Regions from separate parts of the Homo sapiens genome. Here all the other regions are linked to region 2. Evidence: promoter capture Hi-C in 16 types of primary human blood cells and fetal thymus (Javierre and others, 2016). All regions are on one chromosome and are shown on one strand. The core of a region is centred on a gene start or on the middle of the fragment in contact, and the rest is flanking DNA. Distances in the headings are between cores, read along the strand shown.

The links. The method cuts DNA at HindIII sites, captures the fragments that hold promoters and counts their contacts. A CHiCAGO score of 5 or more calls a contact.
Region 1: a contact is called between a fragment that was not itself captured here and the fragment with the promoter of LINC02108 in region 2, in 4 of 17 cell types (total B cells, naive B cells, M2 macrophages and 1 more). The highest score is 7.0, in total B cells.
Region 3: a fragment that was not itself captured here is called in contact with the fragment with the promoter of LINC02108 in region 2 in 3 of 17 cell types (M2 macrophages, endothelial precursors and erythroblasts); the score reaches 6.1 in M2 macrophages.

The regions. Positions count from the first base shown.
Region 1 is chr5:58,840,209-58,844,187 of GRCh38, forward strand. The region is part of intron 4 of RAB3C (RAB3C, member RAS oncogene family); the gene reads left to right. Among named protein-coding and RNA genes, the nearest start is that of PDE4D-AS1, 200 kb to the right of the region's middle. The HindIII fragment of the contact is 1,260 bases long and covers 1,319-2,578 here.
Region 2 is chr5:58,556,810-58,560,815 of GRCh38, forward strand. LINC02108 (long intergenic non-protein coding RNA 2108) reads right to left here and starts at 1,434. Exons shown (of 4, transcript NR_109904.1): 1 at 1,377-1,434. The HindIII fragment of the contact is 10,011 bases long and covers 1-4,006 here.
Region 3 is chr5:58,859,061-58,862,904 of GRCh38, forward strand. RAB3C (RAB3C, member RAS oncogene family) reads left to right here. Exons shown (of 5, transcript NM_138453.4): 5 at 1-334. Among named protein-coding and RNA genes, the nearest start is that of PDE4D-AS1, 180 kb to the right of the region's middle. The HindIII fragment of the contact is 1,390 bases long and covers 607-1,996 here.

The sequences.
Region 1 (3,979 bases), core at 699-3,198, 280 kb after region 2:
TCTTCAACTTCAGAAATTCTTTTTTCTTCTTGGTCTAGTCTGTTGTTGAAGCTCTCAATGGTAATTTTTTTATTTTAGTCATTGGATTCTTCAGCTTTAAGGTTTCTGTCTTGTTCTTTTTAATGATACCCATCTCTTTGTCGAATTTCTCATTCAAATCATGAATTGTCTTTCTGAATTCATTGAATTGCCTATATTCTCTTGTATCTCAGTTTTCTTAAGTTTATTGTTTTGAATTCTTTTTCTGGGATTTCACACATTTTCTTATCATTGAGGTCTGTTACTTGAGAATTGCTGTTTTTCATTGACAGTGTCTTGTTTCCTTGCTTTCTCATGTTTGATGTGTCCCTACACTGATTTCTATGCACGTGGTAAAGTCACTTCTTCCAATTTTATGAAGTAGGTTTCATATGAATGAGTTTTAGGGTATTGGTTTGGTAGAGTACATTGGCTTTGCTTCTAGGTGGATGCAACAGTGTACTCTCCATGTAGTTTCTTCAGCTATAATCCATACTAGTAGCATAAGCAAGTTTCTCAGTGGTCTAGGCTGAGAGAGTCTGTGGCACCAGTGGTGTGGCTTTGTAGGATTGGGGTTGCTGGGCTGTTTCTCAGGTTGGAGGCATATATATGCACACAGTGTGCTAGCTAACTTGGAGTCACTGGGGTTGGAGCTATGGTACTGTTACTCTTGCCACAGGCACAAGCATGCAATTGCTTGTCTGACCTAGAATTGTGCCTGCCAGGAGTGGTCCGTGGAACTATTTCTCAGGTCTACATGCAGGTGCAAGGCTCTTCAGTTGGCCTGGGGGTATGCCCACCAGGGGCAACCTGCAAGGCTGTTTCTTAGGCACTGATGGAGAGTACAGGACCATTGGGTAGGCCACAGCCATGTCTGCAGGGGGCAGGGGGCAGGGGCACTGCAGGGCTATTTCTCAGGTCCTGAGCACGGTCACATAGCGACTTTGCTGGCCAGGGGCAGATCAGCTGCTCAGAGACTCAGGTCCTCTCCCATTTAGGGGAGGGCATGTAGCAGTTTGGCTGGCTCAAGAGTAGAGTTGCCCTGGGCAAGATTGCTATACTCTTCCCCCAGCTGAAAGTGTAGTGACAGGAGTTGTTTTCCCTGCTGTGCAGGACCAGAGTCATAGCTGATTCTGGGCCCAGGCTCTGCACAGCTGGGGTTGTGGCATTCAGCTACCTGTATCAGCTTGTTGGAAATAAAATGGAGTCCCAGTGCTGGAGAGGTGCAGTAGATACTGGCCCCCAGAGAAGGGTGGACCCCAGAGGTAGCTCTGGTCTCAAGATGGTGCTATGCTGCAGAAGCTTGGCTCACAGGGGTGTGAGGTATGGGGAGTGCAAACCTTGTGCTCCTGCTACAGGGCAATACAGCTGCATGAATTCCTAGCGGCTCTCCAAAATGGGCTTAGGGTTTGCAAGAGCTTTGGGATTCTCCTCTTATAAGGACTGTAGGTGTTTGTGGTGGCAGTGGGGGCTGGTGGGGATCATTTTACATTTTCTCTTCAGTGGAAAGTCCTTCCTAACTCCAGGCAGATCTGATCCAGTTTGGATAGACAAGTCTGCAGAGATTGGGTGCTTCTACACAGCCCTATGGTGATTTCAAATCACCCTATGTGTGTCTGCAGTCTCTTGCTGCACTTAGCATTCTCCCTTTGACAAATCGTAGCTGTCTGTTCCTTGCCTTGGTCCTTTTCTACTCATGTATTTCTTATCCTATTGAGCTCTCACTATGTGCCAGGCATGTGATGTTAAGGGATACCATTGAGTAAGTACAATGCTCTTTATTGGGATACAGAGCAAGTAAACCTGTATACTCAGCCAACTCAATGCAGGCATCCTCTCATTTCCCCATTGACCATACTGGGCAGTAAATAATCTCAATCCTTGACTCTTTTTTTCCTTGACTTCACACAAATCAACTCCATTTTCTTTTAATGGTTTTACCTTGAAATTTTTATCATTTATTAGACTACTGATAAAAGAGAAGTCTTACCCTCCATCTGAGAAATTTGGAAGACACTCTAGTCCCTTGATGGATTTTGAGAAGTGTGCTGTTCTCACCAGAAAATCGTTTGTTCATCCTATCTTGGAGTGAATTCCTTCTGCAGATGGCTAATCTCATGGACTTTGTGGCACTTACTTAATAACTTTATTCTCAGTGGATGACTTTTTCTTGTCTCAATCCCAAATCCCAAAGATATACTCTCTTTGATGCCTGTAGGCACCTGCTTTCAGCTGTGTACAGACTGACCCATGATATTTCATCCGTGTAAGCCATTAGAATAGTTTTCTCCACTAAATCTTGGTACTATGCCCTATTGTCTCTATTTTACCCTTAACTTTACTTAACTGGCATTTGCATGGCTTGGCTTTATTTGACAAGGAAGTAGCCATCCTAAGAAAGATTCATCATCATCTCATCCTCTGCCTTGAGAGTTCAGTGAAAAAGCTAGCTGCTTCTGGAGAGAGTTCCTTTTCCATATTCAAACTTCATCAAGACAAGGGATGATTTAATTACGACTTTCAGAATTTGTCACTATATAAAGTAAAATCATTTGTATGAAGCTTCACATAGTGTTCTGTGTCTAGGCTGTGTTACTATTGAAAGGAGGTAGATATAGACCTCGAGAAGAATTTCTTGATTTTAAGAATTGGCAGATATTAGTACATATTAGAAAGGATAAGAAATCCCAAGAACTTGTAAATGAAGCCAACAGCTAGTGGAACACTGCCAAAATATAAGAAGATGGACATTAGGGATGTACAAAGGTTAAGAGTGTGGACTTTAGAGTCAGATTTTAGATCTTGTCCTGGTTTACCAAGTGTGTGACTCAACCATTTTCGCAACTGTAAAATGAGCCTTGTAAAGTCATCTACTTCATGGGGCTGGTTACAGGATTAGAAAATAAATGCAAAAAGGCCTAGCGTAGTATGTGCATATAGTATGTACTTAATAAATGTTAGTTACATTTAAGATTCCATATCCTTTGATATCACAATGAAATTTCATTCATTTGGGCCCTAGTAATTAAAAATGTATTACACTATTTGCTCTATTTCATATGTATCCTCCACAGCAAAAATAACTTCCTAATTGATAATGCATATGTTATTGTAACCTGAAAATCCTAAACAGACAGAAGTTATCAATGTTTTTGTTGACAATTCATAAATAGGCTGAGCTGGAAATTGTCTCCTTTATCATTGAAAGCCTATTGAAATGTTAAGAAGTTACAAGGTTATATTTAACCCATTTCAGAGAAAAAACTCTTTTAAAACACTTAGCACTCTTTGCATATAAGCAGCCACTCTGCCAATCATAAATGATCCTTATCTCTTTATTAAAACCAATATGACAGAACATTGACTTCTCAGCACTTTAATAGTTCTTAGTTCAGGTGTTGAAGTGTAACGATCTTGCATTTCTTCAAATTTTTTCAGAAATATGTCTTTCCTTGTGAGTAAATAGAGCTGGTTTAATTTGTTTTATATCATAAATTTCCCACAGGGCAAAACCAAAACGATATTTTGTGAAATTCCATGCTTGGTAAACTCCATCTAAAAATGATATGGCTGACAGAATTGTTCACTGGTTTAGTCACGTCATAACTAAAAACAAAGGAAAAGTGATTCTCTTTCTCTCCATTTCCCCATTAACCCCACTACTTCTCCCAGCCAATTAACAGAAATCTATTCTTTAATTAACCCTATAAATATATACACCTACTATATACCCACAAAAATTTCAAAAGTTAAAAAAAACCTTTTAATTAGCCAACATCTACTGGACACCTGCTCATGCTGGGCACTATGTTACTATCTCTAGAGATATGGAGAAGCACAGTGGAATGTACATTCTAATTGCGGAGCAAAACACACGTAGTATGGAGGTGGTCAAGGAATGAGGGGTGTTTGCTTTTGGATGCAAAGTTTCTTTCTGGGGGGTGATGACAATGTTCTGAAA
Region 2 (4,006 bases), core at 184-2,683:
GCCTGCCTTGCTAGATTGGGGAAGTTCTCCTGGATAATATCCTGCAGAGTGTTTTCCAACTTGGTTCCATTCTCCCCATCACTTTCAGTTACACCAATCAGACGTAGATTTGGTCTTTTCACATAGTCCCATTTTTCTTGGAGGCTTTGCTCATTTCTTTTTATTGTTTTTGCTCTAACCTTCCCTTCTCGCTTCATTTCATTCATTTCATCTTCCATTGCTGATACCCTTTCTTCCAGTTGATCGCATCGGCTCCTGAGGCTTCTGCATTCTTCACGTAGTTCTCGAGCCTTGGTTTTCAGCTCCATCAGCTCCTTTAAGCACTTCTCTGTATTGGTTATTCTAGTTATACATTCATCTAAATTTTTTTCAAAGTTTTCAACTTCTTTGCCTTTGGTTTGAATGTCCTCCCGTAGCTCAGAGTAATTTGATCGTCTGAAGCCTTCTTCTCTCAGCTCTTCAAAGTCATTCTCCATCCAGCTTTGTTCCGTTGCTGGTGAGGAACTGCGTTCCTTTGGAGGAGAAGAGGCGCTCTGCGTTTTAGAGTTTCCAGTTTTTCTGTTCTGTTTTTTCCCCATCTTTGTGGTTTTATCTACTTTTGGTCTTTGATGATGGTGATGTACAGATGGGTTTTCGGTGTGGATGTCCTTTCTGTTTGTTAGTTTTCCTTCTAACAGACAGGACCCTCAGCTGCAGGTCTGTTGGAATACCCTGCCGTGTGAGGTGTCAGTGTGCCCCTCCTGGGGGTGCCTCCCAGTTAGGCTGCTCAGGGGTCAGGGGTCAGGGACCCACTTGAGGAGGCAGTCTGACGGTTCTCAGATCTCCAGCTGGGTGCTGGGAGAACCACTGCTCCCTTCAAAGCTGTCAGACAGGGACATTTAAGTCGCAGAGGTTACTGCTGTCTTTTTGTTTGTCTGTGCCCTGCCCCCAGAGGTGGAGCCTACAGTGGCAGGCAGGCCTCCTTGAGCTGTGGTGGGCTCCACCCAGTTCGAGCTGCTTTGTTTACCTAAGCAAGCCTGGGCAATGGCGGGCGCCCCTCCCACAGCCTCGCTGCCGCCTTGCAGTTCGATCTCAGACTGCTGTGCTAGCAATCAGGGAGACTCTGTGGGCGTAGGACACTCCGAGCCAGGTGTGGGATATAGTCTCGTGGTGCGCCGTTTTTTAAGCCGGTCTGAAAAGCGCAATATTCGGGTGGGAGTGAACTGATTTTCCAGGTGCGTCCGTTACCCCTTTCTTTGACTCGGAAAGGGAACTCCCTGACCCCTTGAGCTTCCCAGGTGAGGCAATGCCTCGCCCTGCTTTGGCTCGCGCACCGTGCGCGCACCCACTGGCCTGCACCCACTGTCTGACACTCCCTAGTGAGATGAACCCGGTACCTCAGATGGAAATGCAGAAATCATCCGTCTTCTGCGTGGCTCACGCTGGGAGCTGTAGACCGGAGCTGTTCCTATTCGGCCGTCTTGGCTCCTCCCCCCTTTTCTTTTGTTCTTAATGGTAAATAAAATAATGATGTATCTCGTAATCAATTGATGACATCTTAGAATTGATAAAATATGCTAAACTTCCTTCCTCCTTCTTCTGATCAAGTCACATAATATGTAATCTTAAAAACATTTATTTTAGCTGATTTTGATAAGCATCACATTGTATTCACAGTATTGTTCACATATATAATGTTTACATTAAACATTATTTCACATTTATTAATTATAACATGTAATCTTATATTGCATTGATGCTGGAGAAAAAATCTTTCATTTACTCCCAAATGTATATTTTCACTTCTTTTAAGGCATTTATTATAATAGTCCAAGATCAATTGCAAGTATTCATAAATGCAATAGGAAATGCTATAAATTGATCATTTAAAGAAATCTTAGTAGGTTTAGTTTTTTACAACAGAGCTGCATTGAACAATTACTGCACACATACACTGTGGTAAGGCTGAGAAAGCACACAAATGTTAACATGCAGCCCCAACCTCAGGAAGCTCAACATTTGTCACATTTAATGACATGAATTGATAAGGATTCTTTTTTGGTTTTGTAAGAGAAAAGGTCTTCTGTCATCCAGGCTGGAGTGCAGTGGCACAATCATAGCTTACTGTAACCTCAAACTCCTGGGCTTAAGTGATCCTCCCAACTCAGCCTCCCGAAATGTTGGGATTACAGGTGTGAGCCACTGCACCTGGCCTGAATGTATTCTTTCTAAGGAAATCTGAGGGGTCATAAATAGCATGGGGCACATAATTTTCTTTCTTTCAGATGTACCAAGAGGAAAAAAAAATCACAAACTTTGATAAGTAAAAGACATAAATAATATGATAGTGCTGCATTAAGTAGTACAAAGTGGAACACTTCAGATGTACCCAGCAAATGCTCTTGTTGAACAAAATAGTCTGGGTGTCTGTTCATTTCACTCATAATTACTGAGTGCCCACTCTATACTTAATATGAAGATGTGATGATTAGTTTTATTTGTCAACTTGGCTAGACCACAGTCCCTAATTATTCAATCAAATGTTAATCCAAGTGTTGCCATGAAGGCATTTTGTGTGTTATTAAAGTCCACAATCAATTGATTTTAAGTAAGGGAGATTATACTACATAATCTGAGTGGGCTTGATTTATTCAGTCCATTTAAAGGCCCTGAGAGCAAAGCTAAGGCTTCCCTGAAGAAGAAAAGCAAGCCCTATGAGGTAGCTATTAGCATTATTCCTATTTTACAGACTAGGACACTGAGGCTTAGAGTTCAATATCTGCAGACTTCAGTTCAACTCATGCCCAAGTTCCAAACTGTCCCTCCTGATATCCAGCCCTACAGATTTCAGACTTGTCCAGCCAGTCCCCAAAATCACTTAGGTCTATTTCTTGCAATAAATCACTTAACATCTATTTCTTACTGGTTCCGTTACTCTAGTTGAACCCTGACTTAATATATGAGAAGCAAGGGATACACAAGACAGACTCAGGCCTTGTTCCTACCAATTGTATGGTTTAGTGGAAATGTTACAGGAGAAGCTAAGTGATTACAAGACAGCCTTATGAAGGTAAAAGTACAGATACCTAGCTTAGACTTCAGAGTGTTACGAGTAAGAAAAGTTTCCTGGAAGACTGAAGTTTAATTTGAGAGTTGAAAAACTGAGTATGAATTAAGAAAGTAAAGTGTGTGTGTGCACATGCGTGTTGCAGGCAGTACAGTGATAAAGCATTTCTAGCAGAATACCTACCCTGTGCTAAAGGCTACAGGTAAGAGGGAGCATGGTACAATGGAAGACTGGTAGAAACTTCTGCAAAACTGGTGCACAGAGAGTGAAGGTGGAGTGCTGAGAGATAAAAACTATGGAAATGAGCAGAAGCTAGATCATGAAGTCTTGAGAGTCATGTCAAGTTGCTGGGCACACAGAAGCCACTTAAGGGTTTTTAGTATAGATAACACTTGATCACTTTTAGATTTGGGGAAAATCATTCAGAATGCAATGTGGAGAATTGATTGAGAGAAAATAAAGATTGGGAACTAGAAGAAATAATTCAAATGACTAATCATGGTGACCTAGTTTGGGTGAAAGCAGTGGGAATGGAGAGAATTGCATTGGAGAGATATTTAGACAGTGGAGTGAACAATACGTGGTGATTGATTGAATTTGAGGAATGATGGAGATTGAAAGTCATTGTCAAAACATGATTTCTCACCTAAATAAGTAGGTGGATGATGGGACCATTCACAAAGATGAGAAATAAGAAGGATTAAGTGTGGAGCAGAGGAAGACTATGTTTGAGGTACTTACGGGCATACTGTTGGAGATCACCAGTCAGCAGTTAGCTATGCCAGTTTAAAGGAGAGGAGATGATCTAGGTTCAAAATATGGATCTAAGAGGCATTACTGTATCAATGGAAATTGAAGCTAGGATGCAGATGAGATTGCCTAGGGAGGTAGCAGAGAGAGGGCAGGAAAAATACTGGCGTATACCCTGGAACAACCCCAACATGTCCAATGTGAAAAGAA
Region 3 (3,844 bases), core at 52-2,551, 300 kb after region 2:
TGACTGCACTGTGGAACTCTTCTTAAGAAAATATTGAAAACAGCTTAATGCTTTCATATAGTGACCGACATTTAGTTGAAAACTACTGCTGCATAGCAAATATTGTGACTCTTCATGTGTCCACAGGAGCTCTTGTGTGGGTTTAAAGCTATGAAGTGTATTCACATTGTGAAGTTTTAATTATCTTTATTGAAATTAATTGTGTAAAAATGGTATGTGCTCTATTAGGTATTCAGTTTGTATGTGAATTCTATAAAGAAAGTGGTTTTTGTTCTTTGAGTTTGTTTTATTTCTTGAAGATTACAATAAATATCTAAGAGACTATATTCCTGAATTTCTTAGCCTTAGTCTGATTAATGTTTTTCATCTCCTTTCAATTCATATTATTTTTCATCCTAGGATGCTTATTTCCATTTCTTCTCCCACTTCTATAATCTTAGGTACAACACTGAGTTTGAACTGAAGATGAAGAGTGAACACATTTAGGGCTTTGAGTATCTCACACATGAATTTGGACTTAGGCACAGGAATGAATTCTAATACTTGTAATCTTTCAAGGTCGATAACTTTCTAACTGACCCAACTGACTGGGTTCCAGAGTTACAAAGCTTAGCTGTAGGATCAAGAATAGCTGCTAAGGGAGATAAAGGTCTTCAGGTCTGCAACTTGAAGACCATGTGTCCCTAAATGAAAAGTCTAAGGTTTGATGATCACTTAGCACCCTACTGGCATAGCCCGAGGCAAGGGCGGTCAACAGAGAAAACATGTGGATGGGATGTGTGAATGGAATGGGTGTCATTTAATGCACAGTGCTTGGTGCAGTGATGATTAGGATGCCGTGCAGGATCTCCTTGGCCATGGGCCTCAAGGCATGGGGAAGCACCCAGCTACCAATCTATTTGTATCACAGCAGACCTACTACTAATTTTGCAATCTTGTAGCATTCTACTTGTACTAACAGCACTGATTCTATGGAATTTCTTCCAAATGTTCCTCAGGGCAATTTCCAGGAAGGAGTCTGCACTGAAAATCAGTCAAGGGGGAAGGTCCCTGGAAGAGCCACATGAGTCCCATGGGTCAAATTAGCTTCCTGAACTGAACTTGGTAATAGAAGGGTAACCTCCCTGGGTAGACAAAGCAAGTAGCACTTAAGAAACCAAAAAAAAAAAAAAAGAAAACAATGATAATAAATTAAGGGATTTCCAGTTATATTATCAACAAATACTTACAAAATGCCTTCTAATGCTAATTTATCAGTATTTATCAGTATTTATCAGTATTTCAGTAATTTATCAGTATTTATCAGTATACATGAAAATACATACTATAGAGTCCTGACCCTCCATGAACTTAAACCATTGTGATAGAGGAAAATGTGTAAGTTAATATCAATAAAAAACTCATCATTGATAAACTAAATATTCCTTAATATATATGTCTAATAAATACTTAAAATGAACATTGGAAATTTGTTTCATTTCAAAAGAGCTCACAAAAATTTCCTCTTTGAAATGTTGTAAAATGCATTTTTTGGACTGTAGTCCTTTGCCCCCAGATAAATATATAACAATCAATAAAAGTCAGTTCAAAACTTAAAAAAAAAAATTAAGAGCCCAGAAAGACTTCACATGTTTCCTGATTATTCTGAGGCTCTTGTGGCAGAACCAGATCCAACTGGTTTTAGCAGGAATCTGCCTGTACCCTATTCCCTCAAGTAATATGCCCTTAGCTTTTTTAAAATTAATTTTAAAACATGAAGTTACTATGTGGCCACTTACTCAATAGCATTGAGACAGTAGGCATGAAACAGAAAACATCTGTCACCCTCAGAAAATGCTAAGTCATTCTCTCCTCAACTTCCTAACAGACTTGAAAAGGACACCTTCTATATAAAAGGCCACAAAGTCTTTGCACAGTTCTCAGGGACACTCCACCTCTTGGTTCTTGGTTCTCCTCTTTCTCCTCTAACTTCTCAACCCCTCACCCAGTCCAAAGAAGCTTTAGTCTGATAGAGACTGCCTGCTCATCTTTTCTTCCTAATCTATTGTTAATGACCTGAGTCCTTTTGAGCTAGAATTTCTCATTGTTTATTAATTCTAAATCTCAGGAAATTTTATCTAAAAATTATGTTCTCTTTTTTAAGTATTGCCTCTCCCTTAAAGCAATTCTGCTAAGTGGAAGAAAGGCAAAGGGTATAGAAAATATATGGAAAGTGAGTGTTGGATGAAAATCTGGATTAATATTTCAAAACAATATTCTACCAAGCAGACAATTACAATATAATTTGATTAGTGTCAATATAGAGGTTAAACACAAGCTACTGTGAAAGCACAGAGAGAAGCAATTATTAATCCAGATTGAAAGCAAGGGCTGGGATGTTCTGAGAAGGCCTACTAGAGGAAACAAGGACTGAGCTAAAACATACAGGAGATGTAGGAATTATGCAGAGGCAGATGTGAGAGAAGACTGCTCCAAGCATGGGGAGCAAACCACGGAAGTTTAGCAAAGCATGGTGTATTTATGGAATTTCAAAGCCATTCACATAGGGTGATCACAGGATGAAACAAAAGGAGAAAGAGCGAGGGCTGAGATCATAACATTTATCAGAAATGCTTTAAATGTCTAGATTTCATTCTCTAGCTGTGGGGAATTCATGAACAGATTTAAGCCAGGTAGAAGTTTGAACAGATTTGAATTTTAGAAGATCACAAAATTGGCAATATGAGAAATGAATTAAAGGGAGGCAATAACAGAAACAGAAAGAGTATTAGACAGCTATTATAGTAACCTAGAAGTTTTATCTCTAAATTAATTGCAGAATGATAGAAATGAAGAGTAGGGAATACATGAAAGTTCACTTTAGAAGGTAAGAAATGGTGACCAGTAAGATTCGGGAAGAGGAAGAGGAAGAAACCAAAGAAGACCCTCAGGCTTCTGGCTTGGTTGATTTTGCCATTAACTAAGAGAGAAAGTACAACAGTAGCAGTAGGTTTAAAGAAAAGAGAATGAGTTCCATATCCACAGTGTTGTGATTGATATTTCTAGAGGATGTGCAAAGGATGCAACCCAGTGAACATCTGGAAGGTGCAGATCTAGAGTTCAGAAGAGAGTTCTGGAAAGTTCTAGTATGTAGATGATAACTAAGACTTGGGGAGTAGAGAAAATGACGTGCAAGAGAATGTCTCAAATGATAGAAGAGCAGAATGAGAACTAGGGCACACGATATTTATGGGCAGCCAAGGAAAACAAGTTCACAAAGAGACTTGAAAGAGGAGTGGTCAAAGGGATGGATGGAGAATCAAGTGAGAACGGGACACAAGAAGCCAAGAGAGGAGCCAGTTTTAAGAAAGAAGGAGTGATCCATATTTTTGGATGATGTAAAGTGGAATCACAATTGCCAGTCATACAAATTAGGGACACAGACACAGGACACTACTTGTGGGTGGTGGGTGAAAAGAAGATGAGGATTGGAAAATTACCTATTGGGTACTATTCTTGTTACTGAGTGACAAAACCATCTGTACACAAAACCCCCACAGCACACAATTTACCTATACAACAAACCTGCACATGTACTCCTGAACCTAAAATAATTTTTTTTTAAAAGATGGAAGTTAACTTGACCGAAGCAGTTTTAGAGTAGTTATGAGGGAGAAAGAGAGATTGCACTGAATGGAGAAGTAAATGGTGATGAACAAGATGAGACACTATTCTTTCAGGTACTTTGAAAGAAAAATAAAAGAGAAGGTTATTGAATGAGGGTAGTCTAAGGAGGGTTTTATTTCCATATAAGAGTCTTATATATCCCTATATGTTTTTAAAAGCCAATAAAGGTAGAGTTTGA